Regions from separate parts of the Homo sapiens genome. Here region 2 is linked to region 1. Evidence: promoter capture Hi-C in 16 types of primary human blood cells and fetal thymus (Javierre and others, 2016). All regions are on one chromosome and are shown on one strand. The core of a region is centred on a gene start or on the middle of the fragment in contact, and the rest is flanking DNA. Distances in the headings are between cores, read along the strand shown. Region 1 holds the start of PIMREG (PICALM interacting mitotic regulator). Region 2 holds the start of NLRP1 (NLR family pyrin domain containing 1).

What was found. Contacts are between HindIII fragments. The CHiCAGO score rates a contact against its expected background, and 5 or more counts as called.
Region 2: a contact is called between the fragment with the promoter of NLRP1 here and the fragment with the promoter of PIMREG in region 1, in 17 of 17 cell types (activated CD4 T cells, total B cells, naive CD4 T cells and 14 more). The highest score is 35.2, in activated CD4 T cells.

Annotation. Positions count from the first base shown.
Region 1 is chr17:6,438,529-6,445,868 of GRCh38, reverse strand. PIMREG (PICALM interacting mitotic regulator) reads right to left here and starts at 1,414. Exons shown (of 6, transcript NM_019013.3): 1 at 1,381-1,414; 2 at 465-793. The coding sequence starts at 758. The region is part of intron 2 of LOC107985017 (a long non-coding RNA gene); the gene reads left to right. RefSeq lists silencers at 1,165-1,392, 1,475-1,724, 1,955-2,104 and an enhancer at 1,456-2,034. The HindIII fragment of the contact is 3,587 bases long and covers 166-3,752 here.
Region 2 is chr17:5,580,973-5,588,312 of GRCh38, reverse strand. It overlaps NLRP1 (NLR family pyrin domain containing 1), which reads left to right and starts at 3,804. Exons shown (of 17, transcript NM_033004.4): 1 at 3,804-4,626; 2 at 5,467-5,643; 3 at 6,251-6,454. The coding sequence starts at 4,356. RefSeq lists enhancers at 3,416-3,715, 3,736-3,995, 3,267-4,466. The HindIII fragment of the contact is 12,933 bases long and covers 1-7,340 here.

The DNA of each region.
Region 1 (7,340 bases), core at 165-2,664:
TGGCTCTCCTCAGGGATACACAGCTGAGTGGGCAGTACACCTTGCTTTCCCTCAGCTCTAGGCCTGGACTTGCACTATTTCCCCTACCCTAAATACCCCTTGACCTTTGCTTCCCTGGGTGAACTCTGGAATCACCTCCTCTGGGAAGCCTTCACCGACTAAGCTTGCATTTGGTGAGCCTCACTATTGGTCACTTGCTTTGCAATTTCCTATCACGTACAGCTCTTATCACCTGGTATTGTGAGCATCTGTTTCCTCCAAGACATGCTTTCATTCACTCATTCAACTATTTGTTGAGCACCTATATGTGCCAGGAACTATCTGGGGTGGTGGGGAAACAGCAGTGAACTAACCAACGTCCCTGTTTTCATGAAGTCTATATTCTTGAGGCTCTTTGAGGGCAGGAACTGCCTGGCACCAAGGAAACACTCCATAAAAAAGATGATTAGTGTTGTCAGTATTACCTGGGACACGGCACCCAAAGCACTCTTAGCTGAGCGAGCTGCAGCCTGGAGGCCCTGCTGACCTGGCTCTGGGGTTTCCAGGCGTTTCCAGGAGGGCCCTGCGCGGAGGTTGAGGTTGACGGCTCTCAGGGGCAGCCTCCTTTGGAACTGTCTGCACAGGGACCCCAGGGCCCCTACAGAGGTCTCCTGATGGCTGACCACAGGCTGCAGCTCCTTGCTGTCCTCCAGCTGCTCCTGGTGCTGGAGAGATCTCCGGCGCACGGAGGTCCCCATGTTCTGCCACCGAGAAGCCATCTGCCTGGCCAAGAGTCTTCTCTGTCCACTAGACCCTGGGGAGGAGGGCGAAAGGCAGATCAGCAAGGCATTCCCCATACCCATTCCCAGGCCCCACAGAGACCCTGGACACAGGGGAAGAGACGGGATGCAGCGGGGTGGCGGGGGCGGGCGAGTTGGTAAGTGTGGGTGCAGGAAGGAGGATGCTTCCTGGAAGAGGGGCCTCGGGTCAGCAGCATTTCTGATGTCCCGCCCTTCAAGTTTCCAAAACAGCTGTCTTTTCATCCCAACCTCCTTCCTCTCTCTGGCTCAGGCGAGGAGGGGAGGCAGGGTCAAGACACGCCGTAGCCGAGCTTCAGCGCTGGGCCCAGGACACGATCACCATCTTCTTCACCAGCTCGCCCAGACCAAACGCGCACCCGCCCAGACCCCGGCCTTCCCACCAGACGCCCCGATTTCGATCCGACTTCTTGTGGTACCCAGACGACCCCACAGGCCGTGCGTGTCCGAACCTGATGCCCTCCCCTGTGAACAGAACCTGATGCCCTCCCCTCCGAACAAAAAAATTGTTTTGAGTCCAGATCGCGCCATTGCACTCCAGCCTGGGCAACAAGGGCGAAACTTGTGCCCAGCCCGCACTCACCCGACACCACTAAGGCCGAGCACAGCCGCAGCACAGCTGCTCCTCGCCCACCGCAGCCGATTTGAAACTCTGCGCGGCTCCGCCCCCGGCCCCGTCCTCACAGCTGATTGGTTCCGTCCCCGCCCCCGCCACCGCCACCGCCCCGGGGATCCGATTGGCTCCCTCTCTCGCGGCTGCAAATGCTGCGCTTGGATTGGCCCGGCCGTGCCCATTCATCGCTCCGGCCCCCGCCCCGCCGCCAGCCTCGTGGCTCCGGGCTTTGTATCCTGCGTCCCGCTCGCGCCACTGCCCTTGCTAGCCCAGCCCCCGCGCATCGCACACCGGGTCCCCTCCCTGGAGCGCGCACAGGGTTCAGGCTGCTCTGACCCATGGGGTGGAGGCGGAGGTCCTGGGACCTAGGCCTCCTGGCTCAGGCCCCAGGCCCCAGGCCCGGCAGCGGGCAGAGACCCCTCTCATCCTGCCAAGGGGTCTGGCTTTTCCTTCTTGCTCAGTGGTTTTGTCAGAAGGAGCCAGGGACTGGCAGTGCAGAGCCCTGGGTTCCCAGAGACGTTTTCTTTCAAATTTCCCTCCTGACCCTCCCTTCCTGTGACAAGACACTGTCCCTCTCTGAGTTCCCCATACTCGCCATCCACGCTCCGCCCTCCCTAGAAAACGCGTCCCGGAAGCGGGGATAGACCAGAGTACCGGTCTGCCCTCCACCCGTCTACACCGGCTCCCCGCCCCCGCCTTGCCCCACGCATCCCTCCCTCTCTCCAGCGGAATGCCTGCCTCTCTTCTCCTTAGCATCCAAACAAATGCAGCCATTATAAAGCTCTCTCCAGCTCATCTTTCTCCTTTCGGTGACCTCAGAGCAGTGCTGCCCACTCCCCCGGCTGGTTTCTTTGTTACTTCTCCGCACAAGAGCCTGAGATGATGGCTTCTTGAGACTCTGTCTTCAGCCCTCTCCGTTTCTGGGTGGTCTCACCCACTCCTTTGGCCTCAGTGATTTCCAAGGAAAGGATGATGATAATGATTAACGTGTATATGGCACTTAGTATGCACAGGTACCGGTGTTGCAGTTTATTAACTTACTTGATCCTCTGCTATGGTTTGAATGTGTCCCTCAAATTTCACATGTTGGAAATGTAATGCCCAAATTCATATATCGGTGGCATTTTTTGTTTGTTTTTGAGACGGAATTTCACTCTTGTTGCCCAGGCTGGAGTGCAATGGCATGATCTCGGCTCACTGCAACCTCCGCCTCCCAGGTTCAAGCGATTCTCCTGCCTCAGCCTCCCTAGTAGCTGGGATTACAGGTGCCTGCCACCACGCCTAGCTAATTTTTTGTATTTTTAGTAGAGATGGGGTTTCACTATGTTGGCCAGGCTGGTCTCGAACTCCTGACCTTAGGCAATCCACCCGCCTCAGCCTCCCAAACTGCTGGGATTACAGACGTGAGCCACCGTTCCTGGCTATCGGTGGCATTTTTTAAGACATATAAATTGTTATTTATTCAAATTATAGAATATTATACAGCACTGAAAAATAAGCAAATTGTAGCCAGATGGTGTAACTTAAGTCAATCTCAGAAATATGTTAGATTAAAAAAAAGCAATATGCAGACAAACATAAAGTATGACACTGTATAAATTCAAACGCAAAAAAGCTCAACAATATGGTTTAGGAATATGCACATACATTTGTGGACAAAGCTATTATGGAAAGCAAAGGAATTGAAACACCAAAATAAAATAAGTCGTCGTTTTTGGAAGGGTGGCAGGAGAAGAGGATGTAATGAGGAAAGGGCTCAAAGGACTTCAAAGATAATGTTCCATTTTGTAGGCTGGGTGGTGGCCACATGGATGTTTACTTTCTTCTTTTTTATTTTTTTTCTTTTAGACAGGATCTTGCTCTGTTGTCCAGGCTGAGGTGCAGTGGTACAATCATAGCTCACTGCAGTCTCAACCTCCTGGGCTCAAGCAGTCCTCCTGCCTTGACCTCCCAGAGTGCTGGGATTACAAGCGTGAGCCACCTTGCCTAGTCTTTATTATTCTTTAAACCATATATGTAAGTAATTTTATACGTATCACTTTATAAATGCGTGTGTATACACATACCTGTACATATATTATTTTCTAAGTATGAGCTACTTTGTAATTTTCTTTAAAATTTTTTTTAAAATTGACAAGTAATAATTAAACATTTATGGGGCACATAGTGATGTTTTGATACATATAATGTAGAGTGATCAGATCTGGGTAATTGGCATATTCATCATCTCAAACATTATCGTTTTTCTGTGTTGGTAAGAGTCAATATCTTCCTTCTAGTTATTCGAAACTATATATTATTGTTCACTCTAGTCATTCCACAGTGCTATAGAATACTAAGCTTATTACTCCTATTTAGCTGTAACTTTGTGTCTTTTAACAAATCTCTCCTATTCCTTCCTTGCACCTACCATTCCCAACGTCCAGTATGTTGATGAGGTGAGGCCTTTGGGAGGTAATTAGCATTAGATAAGATCAAACAGATGGGGCCCCCATGATGGTACTGGTGGCTTTAAAAGAAGGGGAAGAGAGACCCGAGCTGACAGGCACGCTTTTGCCCTCTCACCATGCGATGCCTTCTGCCATGTTACAACACAGCAAGAAGGCCCTTACCAGATGCCAACCAGATGCCAGTGCTATGCTCTTGAACTTCCCATCCTCCAGACCATGAGCTAAGTGTCTTTTCTTTATAAATTATGCAGTCTGTGGTATTCAGATATAACAACAGAAAACGGACTGACATCTTCATTGTACCTACACTTGATGAGGAAGCTGAGAATACAGAATTTGGTAGGGCCCAAATTTCACTCAGTTAGTCTACACCAGGGCCAAGGGTTCAAACTTCATCAGTCTAGGGCTAGGGTCCCTGTGCCTAACCACCACACCACACTGCCTTCCTCAGCCCCTAACACCTCCACCCCCAGCTTGAGCCTCTCATCTGACATGTATAGCCAACTACCTCCTGGGTCTCATCTCCTCTTGAATGCTGCAGGCATCTTAGATAAACACACCCTAGCTGAAGTCACCCTGGTCTCCTCAATCCTCCTCCTCCCCCATATTCCCTCTTGCCTGTGATCCATTAAGCACTGTGCTAAAAAATGGGCCACAAAGGTCAACAAAACAGATACATTCCTTACTGTCATGGAGCTCAAATCTAGTGTGTGGGGAGACATAGACATGAAAGGATCAAATAACCAATAATCAGTTAATCAAAGAACTATGCAAAACTTATGTTATTGAAAGCTGAGACCTAGAGAATGAGTTAACCAGGCAACGAATGTGTGTGTGTGTGTGTGTGTGTGTGTGTGTGTGTGTGTGTGTGTGTGTGATCTTCTTGGCTCAGGGAACACCACGCTTAAGGAACCAGCATTCACTGTAAGAGACCCAGCACACACACACGTGAACTGAAACAAAAGTTTCATGAAACAATACTTGACTATGTGTGATATGACCTGAGATTTTATTTTTTATTTCATTTAAAAAAACCTTGATGGTTACAACCCACTATATTCATTCTACGAGTCACTAATGGAGTATGAGTTGTGGTTTGCAAAATATTGCTCTAGTTTGCCTGTCCATTTTGTTCACAGTGAAGTTGTTTATCAAGAGTCAGAAATGCTTGTTTTCAAACCTGTTTACAACAGTTGCATTTGTTACTGTAATTAAGGAATTTAACTGATGTCTTTTACCAGTGAAATCCAAGGGGGAAAAGAAAAAGTTGTTGTTTCTATGAAAACTAAGATGAAAGTGTGGGAAAGACTCCATGAAGGTGAAACATTTAGAAACAAGCCAAGTCTCTCAAACCGGAGTGTCTTATCACAATAGCCTCCCCAGTGCCTGTCATGTCACAGGCATCCGTAATAATAGCTTATATTTTTTGAGCCCTCACCATGTGTCAGACTCTCTGCTAAGGGCATTTACTTTCTTTATTCTTTTTTAATCCTCAAGCAATTCTATGAAGTAGGTACGTTTTTTATTTCCATTACAGATGACAAAAGTGAGATGCAGACAGGTGAAATATCTGGTCCAAGATTGTATGGGATGTCAGAACTGGAGCTTAAATCCAGTGACTGACTTCAAAGCCTGAATTCTTACCCTTAGATTACACAACTTTGTTAAGATCAGGGGTGAAACAATGAATGCATGCATGCATAAAGAGGCCCTCCCTGCTTGGAGCTTTCCACCATCTTCCCTCACTCAGAATGGTAACTGGCAGGCCAGGTTAATGAAGAACAGTCTCCATGGCAACAAGTAAAGGGGGAAGAAACATTTTCTTATGAATGGGAAGCCTTTCCCTTTTGCCTTGCGTGGAGTGGTGGCTGGAGGGAGGGAAGGAGGCTGTACTCAGGGGAAGGAGGCTCCTAGTCCAGAGGTCGGTACATTGGCTTCTGTTCTTGGTAAGGAGGAAAAACCAGTCACTTTTTCCTAGCAGAGGCTTTTGGAGGGGGAGGGAATCCAGCATCACCCTTGCCTCCGTTGGGGAGGGGGACAAACGAGGAGCTCCAGCCCTGCTCTCCAGGGGCTCTTTGTCCAAGAGCAAACATTCCACTAGTTTCCTTGACCTCCTGAAACTGTCAATCTGATGGAAGACATAGACATTAAACACATCATTGTAAACAATTACAATGGGGCAAAATAGCATGAATGTGCAGTGCTAGGGAGAAGTGACAGGGTATAAGGGGCATGGGGAGATTGACAGGAGCTGGAGGTCAGGGTAGTCTTCCCTGAATGTGTGGTGTTTGAAGTGAGGAGCTAGTGGGCCAGTGGTTGGGAGTCTGGAGCATTGCCAAGCGTTAGGACTGGGGAAAGCCTAGACAAAAAGGGTGGGGCTGAGATGAGGGGCTGAGGGTAGGGGATGGGGTGGCAAGAGACAGGGTCTGTAGGCCAGAGAAGGAGCTTAAAATTTGTCCTGAAGGTGGTGGCAACTCTTTGCTGAATTTGAAGAGGGCAGTAGGTTATTAGATTGGCATTTTAATAAAGTCCATGAGGAGACTGGTTTGGGAGCAGCTATGGTTTTAATGTGTCCCCCAAATTTCATCTGTTGGAAACCGAATCCTCAAATTCGTATGTTGATGATATTTATGGGTGGGACCTTTGGAGGGTCATTAGGATTAGATAATATTATCAGGGTAGGACCCTGTGATAGGATTGGAGGCTTTACAAGAAGAGGAATGGAGACCTGAGCTGATGTGCGTGCTCTTGTCCTCTCACCATGTGATGCCTTCCACCACGTTATGATGCAGCAAGAAGGCCCTCACCAGATGCCAGCACCATGCTCTTGGATTTCCCAGCATCCAGAACTATGAGCTAAATAAATGTCTTTTTTAAAAAAATAAATTATGCATTCTGTGGTGTTCAGTTATAATCACAGAAAATGAACTAAGACAGGGGGCAAAGGGTTTCTGGGGCATCAGTCTGTAGCCTGTGGCACAACTCCAGGCACAGACCAGGAGTGAATCCTCATTCTTCTCAGCAGGGAAACCAACCCCCCTGGCATCGGCTTCAACATCCCCTTTTCTTCTCGCCCCCACATCCCCCAATCAGCTACAGGCTACATCTATCAGTTCTACTGTTTAAACATCTCTGCAATGTGTGTGTGCCCTTCGACCCTCTACAAAGGGAAACAACAGAAACAGTGGGAGAGTTTTAAGAAGTGTGAGAAGAGACATGATTGGATCCTTTTCACTGTGAATTATATCACCGATAGAAAACTGCCTAAGACATAAAATCTAGTGTCATGAATACAGTGAGTCCTTACTTAATGCTGTCAATAGGTGTTTGAAAACTGACTTTAGGCCGGGCGTGGTGGCTCACGCCTGTAATCCCAGCACTTTGGGAGGCCAAGGTGGGTGGATCACCTGAGGTCAGGAGTTTGAGACCAGCCTGGCCAGTGGCCAATGTGATGAAACTCCGTATCCACTAAAAAAAAAA
Region 2 (7,340 bases), core at 2,555-5,054, 860 kb after region 1:
GACAGTGTGAGCCACAGCTACAGAGAGTGATGCCCTGATGTATTTACTATCCTTCATCCCTGAACCTTGGGGAAGTTCTTGCTCAAAATCATATCCTCATGTCACGGTCTCAGCTGTGCCGTAAATTGGGAAAATCTTGTCCCACATTTCAGGAATGGGCCAGAAAAGAGCCGTGCCCTAAAATGGTGGTGACAGAGAGGACACCTGGGCCCAGCAACTTCAGGAGGATAGAAATGGGGTCTGAGACCAAAGGGACGGCAGCAAGGTAGTCAAGACCAGTCGATCAGAGGGGAACCAAGAACTGACTTCAGAACCCCATGAGGCAATGCCTGGGACACGCTTAGAAATAGGTGGGAGGAGAGGAATTTCAAGGAGGCTGATTTCAAGTTATCCAGATCTTGATTCAAGTCATAGTAATTTGAACCTAAAGAGAAGGCCTCACTGTACTCTGCTGGAGTACTGGCCATACAGATATTCCTCATGAGTTAAGTTTTAATTGAAAATAGCATGACTTGAATAAAAGTGAGTTTTAATGTGTTCCTAAAATGCCTCAAGGAAAGGAAACAAAGGCCCAAAGCACCAGAAACAGGGATAATTTTAAAAATTCAGGCTCAGAGAGCGCCAGTGGGTCCTCTCCACCAAACCCATGAGGCTGCTTCAATTCTCAGAAAGTACTTGAGTGCCATCTAGTGGCCAGAGTGAGTAGCTGTTTGGAAGGATAAGAAGGAAAGCATTAAAGGAAAGCGTTCAAAAGACATTCAATGTCTGTGGTATTGATTGTGCTGACATTGTGGGCCAGGCACTGATTTAGGCATAGCGGATACAACAGCGAACAAAACAAGCCAAGTCCTGTCTCCAGGGACCTAACATCCTATTGGCAGGAGGGGGTGACAGAAGGTAAACAAATAAACAAGTCTGTAACGTCAGGCAATAATAAGTGTCATGCGGAAAAATGAAGCACGGAATGAAGGAATTCTACTTTACAGAAGGTTGGATAGCACACCTCTGAATATCTGGGGAAACCATTCCAAGACAATGGAAAGACTAGTGCAAAGGCCCTGGAGTGAGAGTATTCTTGGTGTATTCAAGGAACAGGGAAAAGACTAAGAGGATCCAGTGAGGGAGGGGGATAGGGTAGGATATAATGCCGGAGAGATATCAGGGGCTAGATCATGCAGCCCCCGGGAACCATTGGGAGGGCTCTGGGAGATTTGGGGAGTTGTTGTTGTTGTTGTTGTTGTTTGGTTTGGTTTGGTTTGAGACTGTGTTTTGCTCTTGTCGCCCAGGCTGGAGTGCAATGGTGCAATCTCGGCTCACTGCAATCTCTGCCTCCCAGGTTCAAGCAGTTCTCCTGCCTCAGCCTCCTGAAGGAATACGGCGTGCGCCACCACACCCGGATAATTTTTTTTGTATTATAATTATTAGAGATGGGATTTCACCATGTTAGCCAGGCTGGTCTTGAACTCCTGGCCTCAGGTGATCTGCCCGCCTCAGCCTCCCAAAGTGCTGAGATTACAGGCATGAGCCACTGTACCTGGCCGGATTTGGGAAGTTTTTTAATATTATGTCATAGGGACAGGGTCTTGCCATGTTTCCCAGACTGGTCTTGAACTCCTGGACTCAAGCGATCCTCCCACCTCAGCCTCCCAAAGTGCTGGGATTACAGGCACGAGTCACCACACCTTTGGTTGGACTTTGGTTTTTACTCAGAGTGAGATGGAGTATGGGAAAGTTTTGAGCTGAGAAGTGACCTGACCTAATTTATGCTTTAAGTGGATAATTCTGGCTTCTAGACTGAGAGTAGACAGTAAAGGGGAAGCATCAGCATGGGTGGAGAACATGTGGAAGGCTAGCACAGTGATCCCAGTAAGAGACGACTGAAGGCTGGACCAGCAGCCCCAGTGGGCGTGGTGGGAAGGGTCAGGTTTCTGATCTATTTAACAGGTTGAGTGGATCTCCAGCGGCCAGTGATTTAATGAATTATGCCTGTGAAGTGAAACCTCCGAGAAAACCCCACAGTCTTGTTTGTTTGGGGTTTGGAGAGCTTCCAGGTTAGTGAAGCAGGGAGGGGCAGGGAGAGTAGGGTGCCCGGGAGGGCAAGGAAGCGCTGTGCCCCTCCCCCACCCACACCTTGACCTCGGCATCTCTTCCGTTGGGCTATTCCTGAGTCGTATCCTCCATCATGAACCGATAATAATAAATAAAGTGCTTTTCTCAGTCCTGTGAGTCATTTCAGCAAATTATTGAACCTGCCGGGGACTGTGGGAACCCTTGAATTTGTCACCAAGTCAGACAGAGATGCCAGTGGTCTGGGCACCCCATTTGCAACTGGCATCTGATATGAGGCCAGCTCTTCACTGAAACCCTAAACCTGTGAGGTTTGATGCCAACTCCAGGCAGTCAGTGTCAGAATTGCACTGTAGGACACCAGTTGGTGTCTAGAGAGTTGGTGCCAGAACTGGCTGGTGTGAGGAGGAAAAAAAGCCCACACAGCCCTCCTCCAGGCCATTCCTCCCGCTACATGGAGTCTCACGGTCCTTCACGGAGTGCTCAGAGCCTCCCGATCATCCCACTTTTAGCACAGCACTTTTCCACTTCTGGTCAATCTGATATTAGAATGTCCTACAATGTGCTTATTAGCCATTTTTTAAAACTAACATTTATAAAATTTATTTAGGCCAGGCACGGAGGCTCACACCTGTAATCCCAACATTTCGGGAGGCCGAAGTGGGCGGATCACCTCGGATCAGACTGGCTAACATGGTGAAACCCCATCTCTACTAAAAATACAAAACAATTAGCCAGGCGTGGTGGTGAGTGACTGTAATCCCAACTGCCCAGGAAGCTGGGCTGATGCAGGAGAATCGCTGGAACCCAGGAGGTGGAGGGAGCTTGCAGTGAGCCGAGATCTTGCCACTGCACTCCAGCCTGGGAAAGAGAGAGAGACTCTAAGACCTTTTGCTGAATTGAAGCCTCTTGGTAAACCTATGATGTCCCATTTAATAGATGGGCAAACTGAGGCTCAAAGAAATAAATCAGGCACATAAGGAGTCCTTGTCCAAGCAAGCCGTGGGTTGAAGCCTGGGCTCTGCCAGTCCAAGTGAAACCAAAGCATCTCCAGAAATTCCTGGTGGTGTGTTACATCAGCAAATGAGTAGGCAATGTCATTCCTCAACCTGAAGTCATTGGCATCTTGCAGATTCCACGAAAGAGGAAGTCTGCCCCTGGCTCCCCGAGGCCTGCTTGCAGGAATGAGGAAGGGGCTGTTCTGCTTTCAGGTGGAAATGTTCACCAGCTAAGTGCTGGGCTGCCCAGAAGGCAAACAGCCCCCTGGGCCTGGGACACATGCTTTAGTGCCCCTGGTAGCATGGCAGGACATGCAGTGCAACTCAAGAAGCTCCCAAAACCATGAGAGGCTGGGAAAAATGCTCCCTGGCCCAGTTCTAATGTTTCCCAATAAGGAGCTGCCCGGGCAGACACAGGGGGCCCCACCCATCCTGAGAGGCTGGGCCTGGGCTGCAGACACAACTGCTCGGAGAGTCTGCATCCTGGCTCTGCAGACAGGCTCTAGATGATGGGCTGGCGGAGTGCCCATGTGGAGGTGCACACACCGTGTTTAGTATGGGCCTGTACCTGCTGCAGCGTCAGCTGGTCTGGGCCTGTGCTCCTGGTCCGCCTATAGATGCCATGTGGCCCATCTGAATCTGTGACTCTGAGTCTGGCCTACCCAGGCCTGGTTTGATCCTACCCCCTGGCCACGCCCCTTGTGGGTTTCCTCTGGGTGACGTTTCCTTCCTGCTCTTGTTGACTAGGCGCTGTTCTTGCTGGCTGGTGCCCCAGGGCCTGGAGAGGTCTGAAGAAACCTGGGAGCCAGCAGCCCGGGGCTCCACTCTGGGTTCTGAAAGCCCATTCCCTGCTCTGCGGCTCCTCCCACCCCACCTCTTCTCAGCCTTGCAGCTCAAGGGTTGATCTCAGGAGTCCAGGACCCAGGAGAGGGAAGAATCTGAGGAACACAGAACAGTGAGCGTTGCCCACACCCCATCTCCCGTCACCACATCTCCCCTCACCCTCACCCTCCCTGCCTGGCCCTGGACCCCATCCCAGGACCTCCCTATCAGCTGACTTCTTCCAGTGTCTTGCAGGCCCCTCTGGGCTCCTCCCTCCCCTGGCTTTTCCTACCACTCCCCCTCTATCGGCGTCTATCTGTAGGTGCCCTGGGATTTATAAAACTGGGTTCCGAATGCTGAATAAGAGACGGTAAGAGCCAAGGCAAAGGACAGCACTGTTCTCTGCCTGCCTGATACCCTCACCACCTGGGAACATCCCCCAGACACCCTCTTAACTCCGGGACAGAGATGGCTGGCGGAGCCTGGGGCCGCCTGGCCTGTTACTTGGAGTTCCTGAAGAAGGAGGAGCTGAAGGAGTTCCAGCTTCTGCTCGCCAATAAAGCGCACTCCAGGAGCTCTTCGGGTGAGACACCCGCTCAGCCAGAGAAGACGAGTGGCATGGAGGTGGCCTCGTACCTGGTGGCTCAGTATGGGGAGCAGCGGGCCTGGGACCTAGCCCTCCATACCTGGGAGCAGATGGGGCTGAGGTCACTGTGCGCCCAAGCCCAGGAAGGGGCAGGTGAGTGGACAGAGGACCCCACTGCCCGCGGGACATCCCCTGGCCCTCATGCCTGCCCTGCCCTCTTGGGACCCCACCACTGAGCCCTCCCTGCCAGGCCTTCCTCTGAGCAGTGACATGGAACTGCCCTCTCAAAGGGGGATCCAGGCCCCAGACTATGCTGGAGCCAGGAGGCTTGCTGGGGGGGCCCTTGCTGCACCTCAGAGCCCCACACCCTCTTCTATTCAAGTGCATTCCCGGTACTCGCCTGGCATTGTAGTTATGAGCACGGACTTGGGAGTCAGGCACTATCACCAGTCCTGGCACTATCACCCTGGGCCAATCACTTCACTGCTCTCTGCCTATTTCTCTGTCTGCAAAATGGGAGAGTGAGAGCCCGCCTCCCTGGGCTGTGTGAGGGTTAAAAGAGATCATCCAGGTTAAACATTTAGCACAGAGTCTGATATACAGTAAGTGCTCAATAAATAAGATCTCCCATTGCTGTTGTTGCTGCTGCTGCTGCTGCTGTTATTATTACTATTAGCCACCCTGGGTTGCAGATGCCGTTGGCCCAATAAAGCACAGCTGAGGCTCAGTAGGAGTAGTGATTTACACAGGGAGATAGTCAGGACCAAGACAGATATGCAAATTTCCTGATCCTAGATGAGGATTTTTTGCCTAGCAGTATCTATAAGAACATCATTCTTCAGACAAGCCTCTAGAGGAAGTTGTAGAGGGCTGCAGCGGGTTCACTGGTGTATCCTGACCTCTCTTGGTTGAGAGAGGAGACCAGCTCAGTTCCCTGGCACCTTGCCCCTGCCCCTCTGATGTGTCTCCAACCTCTTTGTCTCTTTCCTGTAGGCCACTCTCCCTCATTCCCCTACAGCCCAAGTGAACCCCACCTGGGGTCTCCCAGCCAACCCACCTCCACCGCAGTGCTAATGCCCTGGATCCATGAATTGCCGGCGGGGTGCACCCAGGGCTCAGAGAGAAGGGTTTTGAGACAGCTGCCTGACACATCTGGACGCCGCTGGAGAGGTGAGGCTTGCTGAGGCAGGCTGACAGCCCTGGGTGGAGCTGTGAATCAGCTGGTGGGCCCCACCCAGAGGATCATGTCTGTGCATGGGGACCTGACATGGGGGACAGCAGAGGAAGGATAGGGGAGCCAGGATGGGCTGTGAGAGGTAGGCCTGAAATTGATCTTTCAGGGACCTTCCGGTGCTGAGATTGCATCCCTCCCCATGTGGCAGATGGGGAAGCTGAGACCCATGTGGGTCAGGCAATGAGTCTTCCCCAACTGGGTGCCCAACTCGTGACATGGTCCTTGCCCGAGAACTCAGCTCATAATATTGATGGGCTCTGAAGATCCTTAGGGTCAGGGTGGTCCAGAAGTTCCAAGGAGGACTCTGTTTTCCAGACAGACCCCAAGAAGAGGCTAGGCTTAGTCCTCGGCCCAAGCCAGCTCCCTCACATGACTTCTCTCTTCACTACTAAGAGAATAAAATTGCCCCTCTACTTCAACATGGTTTTCAAAATAATATTATTAAGACCCATCTCTCAGGACTGTTGTGAGAGTTTAAAATATATGCACCTAAAAGAAAATAAATGTTCAGTAAATGGTTATTTTTCTTTTCATTCCCCCCAGAAATCTCTGCCTCACTCCTCTACCAAGCTCTTCCAAGCTCCCCAGACCATGAGTCTCCAAGCCAGGAGTCACCCAACGCCCCCACATCCACAGCAGTGCTGGGGAGCTGGGGATCCCCACCTCAGCCCAGCCTAGCACCCAGAGAGCAGGAGGCTCCTGGGACCCAATGGCCTCTGGATGAAACGTCAGGAATTTACTACACAGGTGAGACCCTACTGAGCTCCTGGCGGGGTGGTGAGGTGGGAGAGGCAAATGTATGGACAAAGAGTCCCCTGGGGACCAGGTTGGCAGGCTAAGCAGAGGTTCTGGAAAACATCTGAAATTTCCCTCAGGAAATCCCACCCTTGGAGCCTCTCCACTGGTCCAAGGCACTGTTTCCAGGAGGCACCTGGACATTAAAATACAGATGTGTTACCCAGCACATCTGGGGGACAACAGAGCAAGGAGAGGGGAGCCTGGATGGGGTTACACATCACCTGGTTTACTGGACAGGGCACTGGCCTGGGGTCAGGAGAGCTGGGTTCAATTTCCACTGAGCTCCTCACCCCACAAGTGGCCTACAGCTAGTCCCATGCCCATCAGTGCTCACTGGACACTCTCTGGGTTAGACCATGTCCAGGGCTTTACGTGTACATTGGACTTAAATTTTACAACCACTCCGTGAGATAAATATTGCTATTATCATACCCTGGAGATGAGAAAACCAAGGATTAAAAAGATAGTCTCACAGTTAGTACTAGCAAAGATGGAATTCAGCCTTCACTCTCTCTCACGCAGCAATCCACACTTTTAACTCTTACACAGGGAGTGCCCTCATCTGGGCAATAAGGACAGTCATACTAAAGCCACAGGTACAGAGGCTCCTGATGCCACAGGTTCCTTAACCACTGAACCATGCTGCCTCTCAATGCCGGAGGATGCCTCCTTTGAAATCTGAGAGGTTTTAAGTTAAAAGGATTTCTTCTGCACCCAGCAAGGAGTGAACTTGTAGATTTTGTGGTCGTATATGGCCTAGGCTCAAAGTATATCAGTTTACTTAATTACTCACACCACTTGCCATTCAAAAAAAGAAGCCATGTAACAAACCTGC